Regions from separate parts of the Homo sapiens genome. Here regions 1 and 2 are each linked to region 3. Evidence: promoter capture Hi-C in 16 types of primary human blood cells and fetal thymus (Javierre and others, 2016). All regions are on one chromosome and are shown on one strand. Each heading gives the region's core, a stretch centred on a gene start or on the middle of the fragment in contact. The rest is flanking DNA. Distances are from core to core; before and after follow the strand shown. Region 1 holds the start of PTPN13 (protein tyrosine phosphatase non-receptor type 13). Region 2 holds the start of MAPK10 (mitogen-activated protein kinase 10). Region 3 holds the start of KLHL8 (kelch like family member 8).

Region 1 (3,121 bases), core at 514-3,013, 630 kb before region 3:
AGAGACAGATGTTTCATGAAAGTTTCTGTTCTTCCCAACCTGCCTTTCCTACCTCCCTGATAGATGATCCAGAACATTTAAAAATGGGGGAAGAACTGAGAAAAGGGCTCCAATCATCCACTTGTGTTTCCCATCCAAGGAGCCTGGCCTGTTATTTACTTTCACCACTTATCCCTGCTGCTGCTGTTTAGTTTTTGTTGTTCCCCTCAACTGACTTTCCTCATCTTTGCTGCATTCATCAAAGCCCAGTGTAAATTCCCCTCTTCCATAAACTGAGGAATCCAGCCCATTTTACATAGCAAACTTTCTCTTAGCTGCTACCTACTCAAAGTTTGGCTGCACATTTTAGCTATAATTGTTCTCAAATTGTTTCAAGAGTGCTAGTTTTCTTTCTTAGGCTCCAGGTTAGCTCCTTGGGAGCGGGGACTTAGCTTAAAATCCTGCTGTGTATTTTCCGTTGTGTTTAGCCCTATGAGTAATCACATTCAATGCATACTTGTAAGGCATATTTGACTGAAGATATCTATCATAGTTATTCATTTAGTAAATGATATAATGAAAACTCAAGTGCTCGCCAAAGATAAATCATTACTATTAATTCCCTCATTCATCATACATGTATGGCAGCCTCAGGGGCTAGGGAACCTAGGATTGCTGCTTTGACTTTTTTTGGGGAAGCCAAATAAGCCTCAGATCTCTCCACTTTGGAGCCAGCCATGAAATTCAGATTTACCTAGGGCTCAACATTAAGGGTCTCAGACTAAATTTATCTTCAGGTACCCTTTCCAGAGTGGACCAGTTTACCTTATACCTCTGAGAATAACCCAAAACTTTCAAAACTCAAATCACAGGATATTATTTGTTCATGAATTCAGCAAGACTCTCTTGTTTAACTATTGAAACTCAAATATTTCGGCTTGCAGCAAGGAGGGGTACAGCTGTCTGGATATACCTTGGCCAAATTTCAGTGTATATAGAAAAGTGGGAGGTTATCGACTATGTTAAACCTTTTCCTTAAATTTTCAAACTTCGGGATTATTTTAGTCTCATAGATAAAATAACAAGGCAAGTATTTACAAACTTTTTTCAAAAATATGAGAATTTCAGTTTTCCCTAGGGCATTTGGCGTTGTGCTGTCACCACACTTTTGAAGATAGCTTTACAACCGTGGGAAAACTCACCGGGCTTTTTTCGTTGACCCCGCCATTTCTAAGTTGCTATATTGCTGCAAGGAGCTGGCAAAGCCATGCTCTTCCTCTCCCCCATTCTCCTCTTCCTTTCAAAGACCAAAGCGCCCCGTGAGAATATAGAAACAAGGCTGAGAGGCAGCGAAGAGTAAGGGAGGAGCCAGCACTTACGCATTTTTCACTCTCCTCCTCACTCCCTAGGGTCATAGTTTTGATTCTGAAGTTAGAAGTGTGGGGGTCGTCGGCTGCATTTTCAACTTGGCCTAAAAGTTGGAGTTCACCACACTGCAGGCGCTAGGAACTCTGCCGCTCGGTCACCAACCTGAGCCTCTGGCTAGTCCGAAGAACGCGAAAAGCCAGGCCCAAGGCACTGGTTGTCATGGCAACCGGGGCGCTGGTCTCCCTGGCGACCTCGTCCCTAGGGAGGAGGTGGAGCTGGATGCCAGGCGGGCCAATGAGGTCGAGGGGAGCTCGGGGTGGGAGATCTGCGGTCCTCCCAGTGCCGGGGAATGGTTGAGTGACAGGACCGGGGGGGCGGAGCCGGCGCGGCTGCCCGAGGTGGAGCCCCAGTGGTGCGAGTAGCTCCAGCGGCCACGCTGAGGCGAGGGTGACACACCATGCTCACGGCCCCTGGAGACCGTCGTGCTGGCGAGCCGTGCTCCGTAGCTCCCCGGTCCGCCTCGGCAGCGGTCAGAGTCGCCTACAGGAGTTGAGCCGCCCGCGCCAGAAGGTTTTGGCGAAGCTCTTGGAGAGGCGTCGAGCACAGTAGGGCGGCGGGGGTGCGTTGAGCGCTCGGGGGTCAGGCAGTCGGCCGGGATCGCCGCTGGGGAGCGTTTCCGAGGCGAGGAGGAGGAGGAGGAGATGCTGCTCCTCTTCTCCCCCTCCCCAGGCTCCTTCTACAGCTCCTTCAGCCCACGCCCGCAGCCGCTTGTGGGAGAAGTGGTGGTGGCTCTCGGCGCCCGCGGCGGCTGCCGGCGGCCCGCCCCGACGCCGCGTCCCTGCAGCCCTCGCCCGGCGCTCCAGTAGCAGGACCCGGTCTCGGGACCAGCCGGTAAGGACGAGAGCCGCCCTGGGCTCTGCGCTGCATGTGCAGAAGTGCAAAACAAAGTACATTGCGCTCGTTCTCTTCCTCCTCTCTCTGCTTTCGCTCCAGTCCCTAAACCCAACTCCTCGGTTGCCCTGGTAGAAGGAACTTTTCTTTGGTTTTGGTGGTGGGTGTTTTTGTACGTTAGAGTGGGGGTGGGGTGACTGGAGTGGGGAAGAATGAGATGAAACTCCATTGCTAATTAGGTAGATCCATCTCCTCTGCGGAAGAAAGCCGGATTCTCGGGAATGAAACCCACAGGGGGAGTAAGAGATTGTGGGGTAATAGGGAGTGACATTGCCCCGTCGTGCTTGCACAGCTCCGCTCTGTGCGTGCTTAAGGGAAGGGCTCCCGGAGTCTGTTTCTAATTTCTGCAAATGATTGTGGAGATGGTGTGGTTAGAGGCCGCCCAGAAGAATGTGTGTGTAAGGGCTCGAGAAGGGGGTGGGATGGCGGGGAAGCAGAGGAAGAGGGGGCAGAGGGAGAGACACTGTCTGATGCAAGGTCTTTTATTGCTTTTCTTCTGCTTGCTAAAGTTAACACTCTACCCTCCGGCCCCCTAGCCCCACCGCTTTGCTCATTACGTGATACTGTAAGAGCAGACAGCTGGGAAGCTAAAGTTAAACCAAAGTCAAGAAAATTCTTACAAAGTTTAATTTCCTTCTGTTGTGAATATAATGGAGAGAGGAGGATGGGGAGAAATATCACTAAGAGATTTACAGCAATACAGTTTTCATTGGCCATACACGTATATGATCGACACCACCGCACACTTCCAACTAATCTGTTCGACAGCCTTGTGTCATTTTCATTTAATTGCATCTTTGAAACAACAAACGCGGTGACTTCA
Region 2 (2,938 bases), core at 315-2,814, 860 kb before region 3:
ATCCAAAGCATCCAGCCCCTAAAATCTAATGGTTCTGAAGTGGAGTCAGAAGCTTGTGATATACTTATATATTTATTTGTTATATATTTGTAACATATATGCTCACCTAAAGTAGAAAATTCACAGAAGCTTCTCTGAGAGAAATGGTCCTTACTGCAACTATTTTAAATATGTTGATAAGCATTCTGTGTTATCTTCCAGGGTCCGACAACTAGCCGATGAGGGATAGAAGGAGATATTGGATGTTGTGCTGGCAATGCCTGGTGCACTTACACTCGTTTTCCTTCCACCTGAACTGTAGTCTATCCCATATGACTTAGCCTGCTTCCTTGCAGTTTGTTCATAAAAGTTATCATCAACATGGCCAGAAGCAGGCAGGGCTGCTGTACAGACACTGTCAGGCTCTGCACCAAAGGCAGCCCATGTAAACAACCTTGTGATTGCTTCAGAGCCTACTGCTGTGGCATAAGCCATTCTTTTTCTGTGGCTAAATTGCAGTACCCTGGGAAGTTATCTGTTTAAGGGGGTAAAAGCAGAGACTAGGTCTCTAGATTTAAATGTTTGGGGAGGGTGAGAAAAATATATGGATAGATAGTTTTCTTGTAATATCTATAGCCTGATTTACTTACAGATTTTCCAGTAAATTACATTTATTTTGTTGAAGGCACAAATACATAGATTCTAACAAATATACTGCCATACTTATTTCTGATTTTTTTTTCAAAAGAGCTCTGACATTTGCAGGGGACACAGTATCCCAGCACAGAATACCTGGGAATCTTGCCATGAAAAAAAGAAAGCTGACTGCTGTGACTAGGAGATCACTTTCTTAAAGGGACCCCTTACCTATTTGACTGCAGTGCCAATGTTTCCTCTTATCTCTAACCTGACCCCTGTTCTGTGTTCCTCTCCCCGGCTCAGATTTAGCCTAGAGTTGCTCTGCAAGAGTAACGCCAATAGTTTTATATCTAATATATATATAAATACTGTTCCTTAGTAAAATACATCTTAAAATATTTAAATTATACTTCTCACAAAAGTAAACATAAATACATACTAAAAGACATTATTTTTAATGTTTTATGGAACCCATCACATTTTTCAGATATGGAACTAAGGTCAGCACTTCTAACAAGCACAGCTGTTTGGTGTTTTTTTTTTCCTCTCTCTCTCTCTCTCTCTCTCTCTGTGTGTGTGTGTGTGTGTGTGTGTGTGTGTGTGTGTGTGTGTTTCTCTCTCTCTCCCTTCCCTTCTGTAGCCCTGCATTGGTCTAAAAACCCCTGGTCACAATAAGAATGCTCCCTCCCTCCCTCTGCTACCCCTCACTCCAAATGGAAAGGTTTCAACACGCCCAAGTCTGGAAAGAGATGTTCTGCACAGAGGGAAAAACTGGTAGCTTCTTGCTTCAAAGCTAGTTCACTTGATTAACCTGCTTTCCACCCCACCTCTCTCGTCTCTTCCATACTCCCTCTCCCGCCCCACCAGGAGCAATCAATAGACATCACCCCACCCTCCAAAAACAGGTTAGAACCCAGAACGAGCAAAGAGCCACCTACCATTCCGTGCCTGAGAACTACGATCCTGATCCGGCAGTGTTTGCCCCAGAAATCCTCCCTACTTGTTTTTCATTAACCACATTCCAGACTAACATGGAAGAGATTCTTTGGAGATATGGAGATTGTTTAAAATTAACGATGGACAGGTGATTTCCAAGAAAACCCAATCTTAAACTCACTCAAGCCCCTAGGAATTGAGGGGTGAGGACAAAAAAGGAAATTTGTAAAAATGAAAAAAGAAAAGAAAAAGGTAAGCATATAGCAAGCACCACCCACCCCCATAAAAATAAAAAGTGAAGGGGAGGTTAAAGAAAATAGAAGAAGAGTGGCTTGCTGAATCACCCTCTTTCACTGCCTGGAAACCATTGTGCAGCGTGATGCTGCCTGTACCATTGTGGAACCTACCAGAGGAGACGGACAGAGGGCTTGGGGAATGGGGTTGCTATGGCAACCGAAAGGAGCACACATGACGTCAAAGCCCAGAGAGGTCTAGGGAGGGGGATGAGGGGGAAACAGAAAGAGGAAGCGTCTATGTGCAGCTACAGCTACTGTGTTTTCCGGTGAAATGAGGACCAGGCAAATGTAAAGGAATAAGGTTCGTCGGCAGCCAACATCAGCAACTACGACATCAAGGCAGCCAGCCTGCACAACCTGAAGAAAAGATCCATTCGATGCAGTTCTGGCCCTTTGCACAGCAGCACGGAGGAGCAAATACCAGCAGAGCAAAACACCACTGGAAATGCAACCTCTGCTTTTCAACTATCTCTTGTAGTATCTCTAAACGTCAAACAAGTAAGAGATGGTAATAACCTCAGAGGAGAAGCAGGCATTTGAGTGTCGCCTGAACCCCGAGGTCATCTGCACAGCACTATTCCTCTTCTCTGTTTCCTTGTTTTTGTAAAAATCCTGAATAAATATCCACTAAACCAAATTCAACAGACTAATACTTAGGTTGCAATCTGAGTGTACAAAGAAAATACTGATTAATTTGAGTTAACACATCAGAATTCTTTTTTTTTTAATTGCAGATAATTTTCTAGAGAACTGATGAAAATTGTACTGTTACTATTTGGGGCAAATATCGCAATTTTATTTCAGTAATTTGCTCTGCCTTTAACTGTTATAGGGTATTTTTAAAGTCTCCAAACAGTTTTACTATCCATAAATAATAGTTTCTTAGAATGACAACAGTTGACTACTTGCACTATAAAAAAAAATTAGGTTTACCAAATTTGTTTTACCTTTTTTATGTAAGAAAAATTTTCAATACAAATTTCGCTTAAACCAACTCCAGCCTTTGGACTTCTCAAATTACGTAATCTAATTCAATTCCTTTTTTGCTTACACTCTTTTGAGGTGGGTTTCTGTTTATTGCTACCAAG
Region 3 (3,391 bases), core at 302-2,801:
ACGCAATTTTGGTATCTTGAAAGCAATTTTTTTAAAAAGTGACGAAATAAATAAAGTGACTAAAAGTTTGAAGTTTGAACTGGGTCAGTTTGACAAATTAAGAAGGGTGCCAGGAGGAAGTCTGAGGAAAAGCAGCAGCTTAATGCCACCGCCATCTCCAAGCAGCGTTCCAGGCGCCAGCACTGTTAGCAGCAGTCCTCTGCGTACCCAAGAGTACCGCAGGGCCAGAACACGAGAAAGATGCGCGAAGAGGATTTCCTTCTAGAGAGAGAATAAAGAACACCAAGAGTCCAACAATTACCATCTTGTATAGGAGAAAAACAATGCAAAGGAAAAAACGTGCAACCAGCAGATAAAATACTTATGTCAACCCAGGTTCTAAGGACCTTTTCCCAAAGTATCCCTCTAAACTGGTAACATTAGCTTAGGGCAGAGTCAAGAAGAAAGTTATGCCATTAACACAGATGAAAATACTGAACGTTTTCTATGAAAAGTCACCCGATTAAACACTGCCAAGAGGGAAAAACAGTGCAAGTCCAGTAAAGCACGAGACACGTAGAAAATTCAAGCTATGTAGCCAAATCGCTCTCTCTGAAGAAAACAGCAAGCCAACTGAACCCAGCACGGAGTGGAAGGCGTAAAGAGCTGTCATCGTGGCGGTAACAACTCCACCGGGCGGCTGAGCGTCTAGAAAGAGGCTGCGGTTCCTGGTTCCACATCAGGAGGCACTCTCCACAAGGTCTACACCGCCGCTCCCGGGAAGGCACCTCCAGGGCGGCCAGCAAGCCCCCCGAGTGGGGACAGGCAGTGCCTTCCTCGCCTCGTCCCCGCGCGGCGTGGCCCGGAGGTGGCCCACTCGCCCCGCCCCCGCAGGCCGCGGCTCCAGGGGGCGTCCGGCCGCCCTCCCGGGGCCCCGAACCCGCGCCAGCCGCACCGCGCCTGCCCTCTTCCTGGACCCCGCGAAGCACCTGCCTGGGCCCCTCTTCGAAAGACTGGGAGGAAGGAGTCAAGGAGCTGCCGGGGAGGCTGACAGAGCCAGAGGCTGGAGCTCCCCTACGGGAGCCGGGAGCATAACCCTGCTCCTCCCGCCAATGGGGGCGACAAAAGCCGTGGAAGGTTGCTCAGGGGCTGGATCTCCTGCTGTCCGGGCCCCAAGCCCTCTCAGCTGTGGAGTTTCGGTTGGTGCACGAGGGCTCGAATTTCCTCCGCACACCGGAGACCCAAGACGGGACGGTGTTGCGACTTGGGGGCTGGGGTGAGGGAGGGCTCGGCGCGAGCGGACGGCACCGCACAAAGGAAGAGGGGACTGAGGGGAGACGAGGGGACTGAGGGGAGACGAGCGTCCCGTTACCTCGATCCTCGACCCTGTTCTTCCTGATGTCGCTAAGGTTGCAGCCACGTTACCACGCTCCCAGAGCCCCGGCCGCCCTCAGCGGAACCTCACCAACCCCGCGCGAGCACCCGGCGGACGCGCGCTCTCCTGCGCGGCCCCGCGGAGCCCCGGCGGGCGCTTGGCGTCCTCTCGCCTCAGCCCCCGCGAGCCGCGGCCTCTGGGGGCGGGGCGGGCTGGGCGGGGCTGCGCACGGCACTCTGGGAAGTGTGGTTCTCGGGACCTCCTCCCCGAGGCCACCCCCACGGCCTCGCCCCCGCGGCTCCCTAGTGGGCGGCCGGGTCTCAGGGACTGGGCAGTGTTGCCCGGCCTGGTGAAGGCGGACCAGGGCGTGGCGGAGGTCCCCATAACAAATCTTGAAATAAAACACTGCCTAAATACCTTTGAGCTTATCCATGCTTCACTTCTGCGGCGGTACAAAATTTAGTTTCTTTGTATGTCCATCAAATCCCCTTCTGCGGTTGTGAGTGTTCCTGGGATTTATGTCTTTGAAAAAAGAAGGGGAAAAAAAGGTTTGCATTTATTCCTGTGTCACTTTCACCACGTGCTCTACAAAGGATATACAAAACAACTGTGTTTATAAATACACACCCACAGTTTGTAAACCTAAGGAAGCAGTTGATTGACCTGAGAGCTCGCTGCTAAAAAGCAGTGCAAGTGGCCATGCGCGGTGGCTCACGCCTGTAATCCCAGCACTTTGGGAGGCTGAGGCGGGCGCATCACGAGGTCAGGAGTCGAGACCATCCTGGCCAACATGGTGAAACTCCGTCTGTACTAAAAATACAAAAATTAGCTGGGCGTGGTTGTGCGTGCCACCAATCCCAGCTATTCGCAAGGCTGAGGCAGGAGAATTGCTTGAACCCGGGAGTCGGAGGTTGCAGTGAGCTGAGATTGTGCCATTGCACTCCAGCCTGGCGACAGAGCAAGACTCCGTCTAAAAAAAAAAAAAAAAAAAAAAAAAGCAATGCAAGTAAAAGTGCTGTTGAAATGAATTAATTTTTCTATAATGTCAATAAAGTGGAATGTGTGAGGCGGGAGATCAAGAGACAGCAAAAAAACAAAATTTTTTTTAAAGAAAGATATTCCCCTAAATGTGTCTTTTGCCAGACTAACCTCAAACTTTCACAATCCTAGGAGTCTATTTCAGAATAAATTTAATCCTAGGACCTTTATTAATATTAACACATATGAACATTAGCACATTGATTTTAATAGAAATGAACATATATATATCTGTATATATATATGCATCTTCTATAAAAACCCCAAAGCAACTATTTGAATTTGAAATTTTATTTCTAGAAAAAAAATCACATTTTTTACATTGAAATATAAATAATTCTTAATATTTCAAAATATTCCTCTTTAGAGCATTAGTATTTTGCACATTTAATGCAAATACCTTTAGAAAAATAGAGTAAGATGAGTTTTAAAGAAGTATGCAGTGAAGAAAAGTCATAAAATGTGTCTGGAACGTGATGTAAAAATTGTTGGGACTCAGAAATCGATACCCCAAAATATGGTGCTTTGCCGCGCTGAACTGAGGAAGCAGCTTCAAGGTGTCTCTTACCTTCCCCATTACCCCTCCTGCCTCTCAATTCTTTGTCTCTCCCAAAGCACCAAATGATGTCGTTCTCTGAATTTCCCTTATCTGCCTAGAAACTAGACCTGCCAAAGAGGAACATATTTGCCTTACCTGATTTTTCATTTACTTAACTCATATTGGAGGAAGAAAGACTGAAGTCTGTCAACACTCTTGGACAGACTTTTGTCACAAACTATTGTCTGCTGTATGGGCTCAACACACTTTTTCCCAGGCCATTGTATGTTCCCCATTTTCCCCTAAAAGTCCTTTACTATACCTTAAGTTGCCACATTTCCCCAATCTCCCTTTCCCCCATAAAGAAGAGTATATAAACGTCTCTACCCCATTGAGTCATTGGGTAATCATTCTCCTGAAATCTCCCTGTGTTATGCACATTAAAATAAATTTTGTATGTC

The links. The method cuts DNA at HindIII sites, captures the fragments that hold promoters and counts their contacts. A CHiCAGO score of 5 or more calls a contact.
Region 1: the fragment with the promoter of PTPN13 here is called in contact with the fragment with the promoter of KLHL8 in region 3 in 1 of 17 cell types (erythroblasts); the score reaches 6.0 in erythroblasts.
Region 2: a contact is called between a fragment that was not itself captured here and the fragment with the promoter of KLHL8 in region 3, in 1 of 17 cell types (monocytes). The highest score is 6.2, in monocytes.

The regions. Positions count from the first base shown.
Region 1 is chr4:86,592,552-86,595,672 of GRCh38, forward strand. It overlaps PTPN13 (protein tyrosine phosphatase non-receptor type 13), which reads left to right and starts at 1,764. Exons shown (of 48, transcript NM_080683.3): 1 at 1,764-2,238. It also overlaps a transcript of MAPK10 not described here. RefSeq lists an enhancer at 1,415-2,001. The HindIII fragment of the contact is 4,151 bases long and covers 1-3,121 here.
Region 2 is chr4:86,358,102-86,361,039 of GRCh38, forward strand. MAPK10 (mitogen-activated protein kinase 10) reads right to left here and starts at 1,952. Exons shown (of 14, transcript NM_138982.4): 1 at 1,557-1,952. The HindIII fragment of the contact is 2,874 bases long and covers 128-2,938 here.
Region 3 is chr4:87,219,067-87,222,457 of GRCh38, forward strand. It overlaps KLHL8 (kelch like family member 8), which reads right to left and starts at 1,552. Exons shown (of 10, transcript NM_020803.5): 1 at 1,352-1,552. RefSeq lists an enhancer at 554-1,166 and silencers at 672-941, 1,282-1,771. The HindIII fragment of the contact is 8,812 bases long and covers 1-3,391 here.